Regions from separate parts of the Homo sapiens genome. Here region 1 is linked to region 2. The links are contacts of gene promoters, found by promoter capture Hi-C in human tissues and cell types (Jung and others, 2019). All regions are on one chromosome and are shown on one strand. Each heading gives the region's core, a stretch centred on a gene start or on the middle of the fragment in contact. The rest is flanking DNA. Distances are from core to core; before and after follow the strand shown. Region 1 has its middle 13 kb from the start of SCRT2. Region 2 holds the start of TCF15 (transcription factor 15).

Region 1 (5,591 bases), core at 1,139-3,638, 78 kb after region 2:
AGCAGCTGGGCGCGATGGCTCACGCCTATAGTCCCAACACTTTGGGAGGCTGAGGTGGGTGGATCATTTGAGGCCAGGAGTTCAAGGCCAGCCTGGCCAACATGGCGAAACCCCATCTCTGCTACAAATACAAATACAAATAATAATAATAATAATAATAATAATAATAATAATAATAATAATAATAGCCAGGCATGCTGGCATGCACCTGTAATCCCAGCTACTGAGGCTGAGGCATGAGAATCATTTGAACCGGGAGGCAGAGGTAAGAGGGAGCCAAGATCGGGCCACTGCATTCCATCCTGGGTGACAGAGTAAGACTCTGTCTCAAGAAACAAACAAACAACAAACAAACAACAACAACAAAGAAAAAGAAAGAAAAAAATTGCCCAGGGGCTCACAGCTATAAATCTGCAGATACTTATTGTGACCTGCCATGTGCCAGACACTGTGCTAAGAGCTGGGGACACAGCAATGAACAAGACAGAGACCTGCTCTCATGTGGCTTACATCCTGCTGAGCCAAGAGTAGGTAGATATGCCAATGTCCTGTCATAGAAAGCACCAGGCAGGGAAATGGGCAAAGACAGAGAGAGGTGGAGGCCGGGCGCGGTGGCTCACGCCTGTAATCCCAGCACTTTGGGAGGCCGAGGCGGGCGGATCACGAGGTCAGGAGATTGAGACCATCCTGGCTAACACGGTGAAACCCCGTCTCTACTAAAAATACAAAAAATCAGCCGGGCGTGGTAGCAGGCGCCTGTAATCTCAGCTACTCGGGAGGCTGAGGCAGGAGAATGGCGTGAACCCGGGAGGCGGAGCTTGCAGTGAGCCGAGATCGCGCCACTGCACTCCAGCCTGGGCGACAGAGATAGACTCCATCTCAAAAAAAAAAAAAAAAAGAGAGGTGGAGCGAGAGCCATTTTAGATAGGGTAGTCAAGGAAGACCTCTCTGAGGAGGTGACTTTTGTGTAGAGTCCAGAATGCAGCAAGTGCTGGGTGAAGCCTCAGGAAATCTGCTTTAGCATTGCTGTGGCAGATTCAGGGTGGAATCCAGGAGATCCCAGGACTGGTGGTGCCTAGAGCCCAGTTGGCTAGATCAACTTCAGTGTGGATAAATGACTCCCCTGCCCCCGCGAACTTACCTTCCTGGAGCAGTTAAAAGAACGGGGCACATGACCTAGATTCTCTGAGCTTCACTTTTCTCATCTGTAAAATGGGGATTGAAAAGCATAGCTTACAATTCTGAGAGCTGAGTTGATTAACAGAGATGGTCCATGTAAAATGCTGGGCTCAGAGCTGGGCTGACCAGATTCACCTAGTCCTTGGTGGCTGGAGTGGGCAGGTGACCTTCCTTTTGGCCGTCCAGCACCCTCCAACTCCTTGCTTCTGAGACCTCACCTCCCACTCATGGTATCATTGCTGGCCTTCCCAGCCCCGTCTTGGCCAGGGGGCAGTCAAGTGACCCAGATTAGCCTCGTGCCATTCTGTTGAGGGTGTGGTGGTTGCTACATTGAGTGTCCAGAGGTAGCAAGGACTAAAGTCCTGGTGTCAGCATCCAGCGTTGGTGTCAGCAGCACGAGCTCTGTCTTGGGGACCCGTGGTGTCAGCAGTGAAGTCTCCCTCAGGCCAGGGCTTTGGTCTGATTTGAGGGCTTTTTTCTTTTCTGGATATGAAGCCTGTAAGCCTTCTGACCCTCCTGGAGATCCTTCAGGCACGTCTGCAGCCATGGGTCCTGGATGATTTAGCAGCTCACGCCATTGTCTGGAAACTCCACTGGTACTATTTTTCTCATGTTCAGCTCTCTGTGCACAGACTCCATCCTTCTGGCCCAGATGGCCCCTTGGGGATATGCACATACCAAGTTCTTTCCACTGTCCTCACTTTGAGGGCAGGGGCCTGGGTTGTTCATTTTTGTGTCCCCAGATCCTAGCACAGAGCGGCTCAGAGGAAAGGCTCAATGCATGTCCATGGTGTCAACAAATCAGTGGCACAGGATACAGTTTCCACACATCTCCCCATCCTGGTTGCTTCCCCGAACCATTTTCCAGTCTGTCAGTGTTCTTCTGAATATACAGGATCCAGAACTGAGCACAAAACTCCAGAAATAGGTGAATGGAGCTGAGCAGAATGAAACTGTCACCTCCCTTACCGTAGATACCGGACTTCTAATTACATGACCAGACATTTAATAAGCTTGTTTTGTTTCCCTGGGTGGCATATATCAAGCTACTAGCAAGCGTTTTGTTTTCATGGTCCTCTACCCACATATTGTTGCAAAACCTCACTTTACTGCCCTTCTCCCTTAATTTCACGCTTATAATAGTATTGCCCCTCTCTCACTTCCCAGGAATGCCAAGTCGATTACAGCTCAAGAGCCCAATCTTGACTGGTCCGTAGCCTGGAACATGGTGCTGAGATAGATGCTGTAACTGAGTTTGGGCTCACTGAGAAAGACTGCTGCAATTGATTAACGATGTCTGCCAAGCTGTGTAAAGTGAAGTAATGTCATTCCCTATCACAAGTCCTAACCTGGGGTCCATGGAAAGAATTTAGTTGGTCTGTCATTAACTTGGATAGGGAAAGTATTACATCTTTAATTTCATTAACCTCTATCTGAAACTTATCATTCCTTCAATTATGAATGCAGGCAACAGACCACAGTGGTATTAGCAGGACCTGTGACTTTGTCACCAATAGAAATCACAGATTTTTTAAAATGACATTACAGACGTTCCGCATATCTTGAAATATAATTTACATGCACTGTGACTTGGAAATGATAAGTTATTTGCTAAGTACTCATTTACTTACTCACATTTGTTTAGCGCCTAGTCAATAGCCTGGTGACGTGCCAGGACCTGGGCTGGGTGCTATAGGCAAAAGGCAGATGCGTAAGGCTCAGTCCTTCCCTCAAAAGAGAAAAGCAGACAGTGACAATGGAAAGGCTTGATGCTTTGATGGGGGAAGTACCTGAGGCCCCCAACCCAGCCCAGAGGGATCAGGGAAGGCTTCCCAGAGGAAGTGGCCTCTCAGATGAGTAGGAAGTAACCAGACCCCTGAGTGCTGAGAAAAAGTGTTCAGGGAGCAGAAACAGCATGAGTAACGAAGCTAGGAAAGAAAGAGGACACAGGGCTTACAAAGTATTCCATGGCGGGGATGGGGAGGGGAGGAGAGAAGCGGGGAGATGGCTGGGGGGGTCAGGCAGGCCCCTGGAAGTCATGCTTGGCGGTACCCTGGTCGTGGGGGGGAAGGGGTGCTGGCGCTTGCTGCCCCATCTGTCTCAGTGGCATTGAGCTGTGACTTCAGTGGCCTGGGGAAGTTCAAGGTCACCTCTGGGGTGGAGGAGGTGGAGACATCTCACCAGGGCTGGCAAAGGCCAACTGGGAAGCTGGGGCCGATACCTGCCCCTCACGGCAGCCACCACAAGGGGCCTTCTGCTCCGAAGGCCCAAGCACGCCCTGTTCCTTTATTTATGGGCCGTGTGAGCAATTTGCTGCTTGCTGGCCGGCTGGCTGGGTGTGCGATGCGGGGATTACTCACGCCCCAGTTGTGGTCCGGCCTCTGCAGGCTGCGGGGTAGTGAGTGAGGTAATTAAGTGTAAAAGATGGAGCAGGCAGGGGAGGGCTGAGGGCGGTGAGCAGTCACTGGTTCTTTTCAGGAGCAGGGGAGTGAGATAATGTAGGATAATAGCCTAGCCAAACCCTGCCCAGGCAGCCCGGCCTGTGCTGAGAGGTGCCCCCCAAACGGCCAAGACAATTCAGCCTTTTCAGGGAAAATGGGGGGGCTTGGGCAGGGCCTGGCTCCCAGGGACAGCTGTATGGAAATGACAGCTCCTCTCCTTCGTCCTGTCCTGTGTTGGCTCAGGGTAGGGGCAAGTGTAAGTGTCTTCAGCTGGGGATGAGGCCAGGGCAGGGGGCAGTAGATGGGACCAGGAAAGCTGGTGGGTGAGAGGAGGGATCCATGCGGGGCTGGGAGACTGACCTGTGTATGTGGCACAGGCACAGTGGTTCGTGGCAGCAGACTCCAGGGCCTGACTCACCTGGTGGAAACTGTGGTGTGGCTTTGGCTAGCTGTGTGACATCAGCCTAGTTGTGGTCCTTCTCTGAGCCTCAGGACTCTCATCTGTCAAATGGGGCTGTCAAACAATTCCTACTTCCCGGGGGTGTTTGGAGAATGGTTCGTAGCGCCTGATGCACAGGGGCTACGAAATGCTTGACATGGTGAAGTCCAGAATCAGAGTGCATTAGTCATTCACTCATTCAGTGGATAAATGTTTATTGAGTGCCTACCATGTTCTAATGGTTCCTGGGAAAGCAGCAGTGACTAGAACAGAGTCCCTTTCCTCTTGGAGATGACATTCTAAGAGGGGAGACAGACCATTAATCGTGAAACACATAAGCATAAAAGGTCATACCAGCAATCCCACTTCTGAAAACTTATTCTATAGACATGTTTGCATACATGTGGAATGAATGCATTCATGGTTATTTATTGCAATTTTGTTTGGCATAGCAAAATCTTAGTAATGATCTAAATGCCTGTTACACATGGGCTGACTGAAGTATGGAATATTATATAGCCATTAAAAAGGGTGAGACCATTTCTATTTCTGTTTATTTTTATTTACTTTTTTTAGAGATGGGATCTCACTATGTTGACCAGGCTGGTCTTAAACTCGTCACTGGTGAGACCATTTCTTATGTACTGATATAGAAAGCTCCCTAAGATGTTTTGACAAATAAGAAAAGGAATGTGAAGGATAGTTTCTGTAAAAGAGGAGACAATTTGAAAAATGTATTTCTATTAGCTTGTGTATATATGAAACTAATAATAGTTGTTACCCAAGGAGAGGAGTAGGGTTGGAATGAGAGACAGGAAGGGGAGAGTTTCACTGTATACTTTTCTATAACTTTTATTTTTGTATGAAGTGAATGTATTACTAGTTCAAAAAAGAGAAAATAAATATTCAGCTTCCTCTTTCCTCCTTTCCTTCCTCAGCATTTGTTGGAGGTAGCTGTTGAGATTTGGGACTAAGCAACAAAGGCAGCTGAGTGAGGTGGTGGCTCAGTGTGCCTGGGGATTGAACAAACAGGTTCATATATCAAGGATAATGAGAGCCAGGTTGCTCAGCATCAGAGAAGGGAATTACAAGTATGAAAACAGGAAAGGCTAGAAAGAACCCTGTGGTGTTAGATTGGAGTTAGAGGAATCAGTGTAAACTCATAGCTTTTGATATATATAGTTACATAAGCATGCATGCAAGTGTGTGTGTGTGTGTGTGTGTGTGTGTGTGTGTGTGTGTGTGTGTGATGCATATGTGCATTTCCCAGTTCTGTCCAAAAAGACAGCAATAATCAATACACCATGTAGCCACGAATACACCTAACACCTAGATCTTGGGTTTTAAATACTATTCTCCACTGAAAGGAACTGGGGCTTGGGAAAATAGTAGATTTGAGGGCTGGAGCAGGAAAAGTGCCCTGTGCCTGGTACCATGGTACATGAAACATCTAGCTGTGCCATATGATAGGCAAGTGCTCAAGTAATGCTGAGGACATGTCAAAAGACCAAGGTGCCAACTTAAAGGGACTC
Region 2 (5,292 bases), core at 2,487-4,986:
TTGGGAGGCCGAGGCAGGCGGATCACCTGAGGCCAGGAGTTCGAGACCAGCCTGGCCAACATGGCAAAACCCCGTCTCTACTAAAAATACAAAAAATTAGCCAGGTGTGGTGGCTGGCACCTGTAATCCCAGCTACTTGGGAGGCTGGGGCAGGAGAACTGCTTGAACCCGGGAGGCGGAGGCTGCAGTGAGTTGAGATCGTGCCACTGTACTCCAGCCTGGGCGACAGAGCGAGACTCCATCGCAAAAAAAAAAAAAAAAAAGTCCTGACAAGACCCCAGTTTGTTTGTCCCTTAGGAACTCAGCACCAAGGGTCTTCGGGAAGCACCATGGTTAGGAGTTAGGCTCAAGTGAGACAGACCTAGGCTTCGATCCCTACTTTGCCAAGGGCCAACTACTGGACCTCAGGCAAGTGATTTCATCTCACTGAGCCTCAGTTTCCCCCCCGTAAAGGGGAATTACTTTACAGGATCACACAAGCTAATCTAGGTAAAGCCTTGGCACAGTGTTGGGAACAAAGTAAATGTTCAATAAATGTTCATAAGTATTATTATCAGCATCATCTATGGACAGTGCCTCCTGGTCCCAGCTACCCTCTGGGTATACCAACAGGGGAGAGCCTTACAAGATGATCCTGTCCAATCCTCACCCCCAGGTGACAAAGGGAAAACAGGGCAGAGACAAGAACCCCCTTTCCACCTCCCACGTGCTAATTCTACCACAGAGGGCCACACCTAACCCCTCCTTCAACAGAAAGATGCTACAGGAAACTGTTTCCACGGCAACCCCAACTCCAGACTGGCCAGGATGGGAGGGAGGTGGTGGCTCAGGGTAAAGGAACGGGGTCTTGGGTCTTAAAGCTCTTCTGGCCCACAAAGCTCAGAAGGGAGCAAGAGCTCCCCAAGCCAGCCAGTTTTCTTCCAGCAGAGTCTTCAAGGGGCCATAGCTGGCCAGGATTGCCCCTCTCGCCTATTCCCAGAGGAGACCGTGGGGTTGAGAGCATGGTTTCTACAGCCAAATTTGGCTGAGTTCTTGGTCCCATAGACAGATCCCAGGGAAGCGGCCAGGCCCAGGGGAGGCCCCTGTGAGCTGTGGGACAGGCCTGAGACCTGCAGAGAAGTCCCCCAGCCTGCTTGCTATGGGGGTGGACACATGACAGTTACAGGGACTTCCCTCTGTAACCTATCCCACGTCCCAACCAGGCAGGCCTGAGTTTGAATCCTGGTTCCATCACTGACTGTGTGTCTCTGCGCCACTGGCAGCACCTCTAAGCAAGTGGGGATAACCACAGCGCCTCATTCCTGGCTGTTGCAGGATTTTAATGATAAATCATAAAGAGCGCTTAGCACAGATCAGTGCTCATGAAGGCTGCTGTCACTGCTGTTATTGGCCATTGTGCTCCCCCTCTGCACTCCTGCCACTTTTAACCTCTTCCCTCTTCCTTCTCTAGGCCTGAGCTCTTGCTGTATGCCCCAATCCTAGAACACCCTTTCCTACCCCTTCATCGGCCTGCCCCTGTTCTAAAGCATCCTTCAGAAATGAGACACAGAAACCCTGTCAGCACTCACCCTGGGTTGGAGGCTTTCTCTGGGCTCTGAGAATCCCTTTGTGCTTCCCCTCCCCCACCATCAGACCACAGCATCCTCATCTTCATCTCCCTGCCCTGACCCTGGGGCTGTACTGTCAGGTCCTGACTGGTGGAAGGGTGGGGACCTACAACCTGCTTCTCTGGGGTTCTCAGAGCCAACAGAAGGCAGCTGTTGGGTAGCTAAGGGTTGCTAACTGGAATGAATGGGTGAAAGGCAGTCAGGGAGTATCCCTGAGAGCCCCTTCAGGCCCTCCCATCCCAGGAAGCCTTAAAGGCCCACTCCTGGCTTCTCAGCCCAGCCTGGGGCACTGACAGGGGCCCACAGCTGGGAGCAGCAGGGACCCTGGAGAGGGCACAAGCCTGAGGCTAAGAAGACCGACGATTCAGGGCAACTGAGGCAGCCAAGTGTTGAGCAACCAGGCTGGATATCTGATGAGCCAGACAGAGGGTGGTCTCAGGCCAAGATGCAGAGGCCTCCGCAGAACAGGGTGGAGCAAGGGACCAACGGCAGCTGTGAGAACCAAACAGCAGGGAGTCAGGGGCCTAACTCCAATTCCCCATGCCCTTCCACTTGGCCACCAAAAGTCAGTACTCTCTCAGCCTCAGTTTCCCCGGATGTAAATGGTAGCTGCTGGAATACAAGTTGTTAGACAGGCTTCTTTACTGTAGGAAAAGCCCAGGCCAGAAAGGCACACGGTCGGGGGATGAAGCAGGTTCCTTGGAGCCTGGGCAAGGTTTCAGCCAAGAGGCCACCTCTGCTGCCACACAGCCCCCGCCCACCCCTACCAGCCTGATCCACTTTCTTGCCCAGGACACATTGCAGGAGCTGCACACCAGCTCCCTCCAGCTGACCCAAGAGTGCCCTCTCCCAACACCACGTCCTTTTGGGGGCTGGGGACTCTCAGAGGGCCCCTTCTTCACTCCTACTGCTCATCCGCTGGGTACCTCAGGCTCTCGGTTGGCGGTTTGTGGCCTCCTTTCTTCTCAGTCTCCTGCTCTTGGGTTAGATCTTAGGACAGGGGACAATTATTTCAAGGTGGGGGCAACACACACCGGGCAAGCCCAGGGCCAGCGCCCCGGCTTCCCAGCTGAGTAAATGTGGGCAGGTGATCCCATCTCTGATGCTCAGATCCTCATCAGGATAAAATGGGCAGAAAAACTACCTGCCTGAAGGGATTCTTGTGAAGGCAAAAAAGTGGATGTGGAGCGCATCGGCACAGAGGAAGACTCCATAAAAGATGGGTCTTTGTTACTCAGTCCTCATGCCGTCTTCCCAGCAGGAAGGAAGTTCCAGCACACCTTTCGTTGGAGGGGATATCCCACACTGAGCAGTTAAATCAGACCCGAACTCTGGGTTTTCCCGCATCCTTCTGTTTGGGGGCCTGGGCATTAAGTCAGTGGTTCTGGGCTTGGGGTGCCGCACCCAGCACGAATTCCACGTCGCTTCCCCCTGGCCTCGTTGGGGACCCCTGCACCTCTCCGGTTCCCGCAGAGGCGCTGCCCCCCGCCTACCCCGACCTGGCGGCCGCAGCGAGGGACGCAGCACACTCACCCCCTTGCGCTGGTTGCTGAGGCAGAAGGTGCAGATGGAGCGCGGCTGGCGGCCGCCGTCGGCGGCGGCGGGGACGGCGCCCTTGGCACTGCCCGCGGCACGGAAGCACGGCTGCCCGTCGTCGGCCGAGTCGCCCAGCAGCAGCACGTTGGCCAGGTGCGCGATGTAGCTGGACGCCAGGCGCACGGTCTCGATCTTGGACAGCTTGCGGTCCACCGGCTCGGTGGGGATGAGCGTGCGCAGCGCCGTGAAGGCCGTGTTCACGCTCTGAGTGCGGTCCCGCTCCCGCGCGTTGGCCGCCTGCCGCTGTCGCACCACCACCACGGGGCCCGCGCCGCCGCCGCCGCCCGCCCGCCGCCCGCCCCCGGGGCCCGGGCCGCGCCGCGCCGCCTCCGGGCCCTCGCAGCAGCCGAACGACTGGTCCGACGCGTCGCTCTCGCTGCGGTTCTCCTCGTCCTCGCTCAGCAGCCGCACGTCCGGGTACAGCACGTGCGCGCCGACGGGCCGCAGCAGCGCGAACGCCATGGGCGCCGGCCGCGTCCCTCCGTGCGCCGCGTCCCAGCGTCGGCCGCGCCCCGCCGTGCGCTCCCGCGCGCTCCCACGGCCCCGCCGGCCCCCGCCTTATAGGCGAGGGAGGGGCCAATGGCAAGGCCGCCCCGGCCGGGGGCGGAGGGCTCCGCCCGGCCAATGGGGAGGCGTCCGCCCGGCCAATGGGGAGGCGTCCGCCGCGCCCTGGCCAATGGCGACGCTCCCACCGCCTCCGTCCCCCAGGTTGAAAGCGGCCCGGGAGCCGGCGGCCCACCCCGAAGGCCCCCGTTCCCGGCTGGCTAGCCCGGCAGATGCTGGAGGTCTGGGAGGGTCGGCCGGGGTGGGCCCAGATCCGAACTTTTTGTCTCCAGCCTGGACCACCTGGGAGACGCGGGCAGATCCCTTTCTCCTCTCTGGGCCTCAGTTTCCTCGTTCGGAACGTTCAGATTGCAGAGAAACAGCTAGTGTCTGCCTGCCCTCCAATTCTAATCCTGTAGTTCTGCAGCTTTCACGTGCGTAAGAACTGGGGAAGGGGCTTTTGCTATTACAGAGTCCCAAATTGCTCCCATTCTGATTGAGCAGTTCTGGAACGGGCCCAGGAACCTACATTTTGTAACAAGCCATTGGTGATAGTGGTGGTGTCCGTGGAGAACACTTGGAGAAAAGCTATAATCTTTCCAAATGAGGATTCGACAGTGTCTTGTCCCTGAAGACAAACTTAAAAAGAAGAAGAAAAAAAAAAGCAAAACAAAACCACAATACACAAACACCAGTAGTTCGTTCGTTTTTTCAACAAATATTCGTTGGGTCCCTACTATGTGTCAGACATGGTTTTAGGTCTGAGGATACAGCCATTAACAAAATAAATTCTTCACCCTCACGGAACTGACGTTTTGGTTAAGGAACTACTGTGTACCAGACTCGGTGCTATATACTCTATTGCGCCCAGCTGAGGCTGCAGGATGGCAGCCCTGAGTTACAGGTCAGAGAGCTCCGGCCTTCAGTCGTACAGGTGGGAGTGGCGGCGCTAGCTCCAGCCTGTCCGGTTTCACTACCTCTTGGAATCCTACCACCACCATCCCATCACACACACACGGGCTATCTTTCCTCAATGCCTGCTTGCCTTCTAGAAACCTTAGATTGTTCAGCCTGACGTGTCCTCTTCAGAGAATTGCTGAGCCAAAGGTGGTTGCCGGGGTCTCGATCTCACTCGTGCCTGCTGCTCAGCTCTCTCCAGGCACTAGCTAAACCAGCATCCACTTGGCCTTGAAAATAAGCCCGAGTGGCAGCCGGTGTAGCAGACAGAGCGCAGGGAGTGGAGTTGAAAGGCTTCTAGGTGCATTTTGGCTCCTCTGGGCGTCTGTTTTCCTGACGATGCCTGCAGCTCTGCCATGCTGTGCTTTCCTGGCTTCCCTGATCCAGGCCAGAATTAGGGGAAGAAGAGGGAGCGAGGGATTTCCCATGACTGCCGGGGGAGGAGCCCCTTAGGACCCAGGGTCTGCGGGAGAGTCTGTTCCCACACCTGGATCCCCCCACCGCCAGCATTTGACCGTGACCCCAGCCAGGCTGGGCTTTGGGGAGGAGGGAAACAGCCAGCATGGGCCCCCTCCCCGCAGGGCTGGTC

The links. Contacts are between HindIII fragments. The study calls those that stand out against the background at their distance.
Region 1: a fragment that was not itself captured here is called in contact with the fragment with the promoter of TCF15 in region 2 in 2 of the 25 tissues and cell types used here (H1 embryonic stem cells and spleen).

The regions. Positions count from the first base shown.
Region 1 is chr20:685,559-691,149 of GRCh38, forward strand. No RefSeq gene overlaps it. Among named protein-coding and RNA genes, the nearest start is that of SCRT2, 13 kb to the left of the region's middle. RefSeq lists enhancers at 2,982-3,562, 3,563-4,141. The HindIII fragment of the contact is 5,508 bases long and covers 1-5,142 here.
Region 2 is chr20:606,573-611,864 of GRCh38, forward strand. TCF15 (transcription factor 15) reads right to left here and starts at 3,737. Exons shown (of 2, transcript NM_004609.4): 1 at 3,141-3,737. The coding sequence starts at 3,665. RefSeq lists silencers at 3,655-3,824, 3,835-3,944 and enhancers at 4,644-5,144, 5,145-5,292. The HindIII fragment of the contact is 16,586 bases long and covers 1-5,292 here.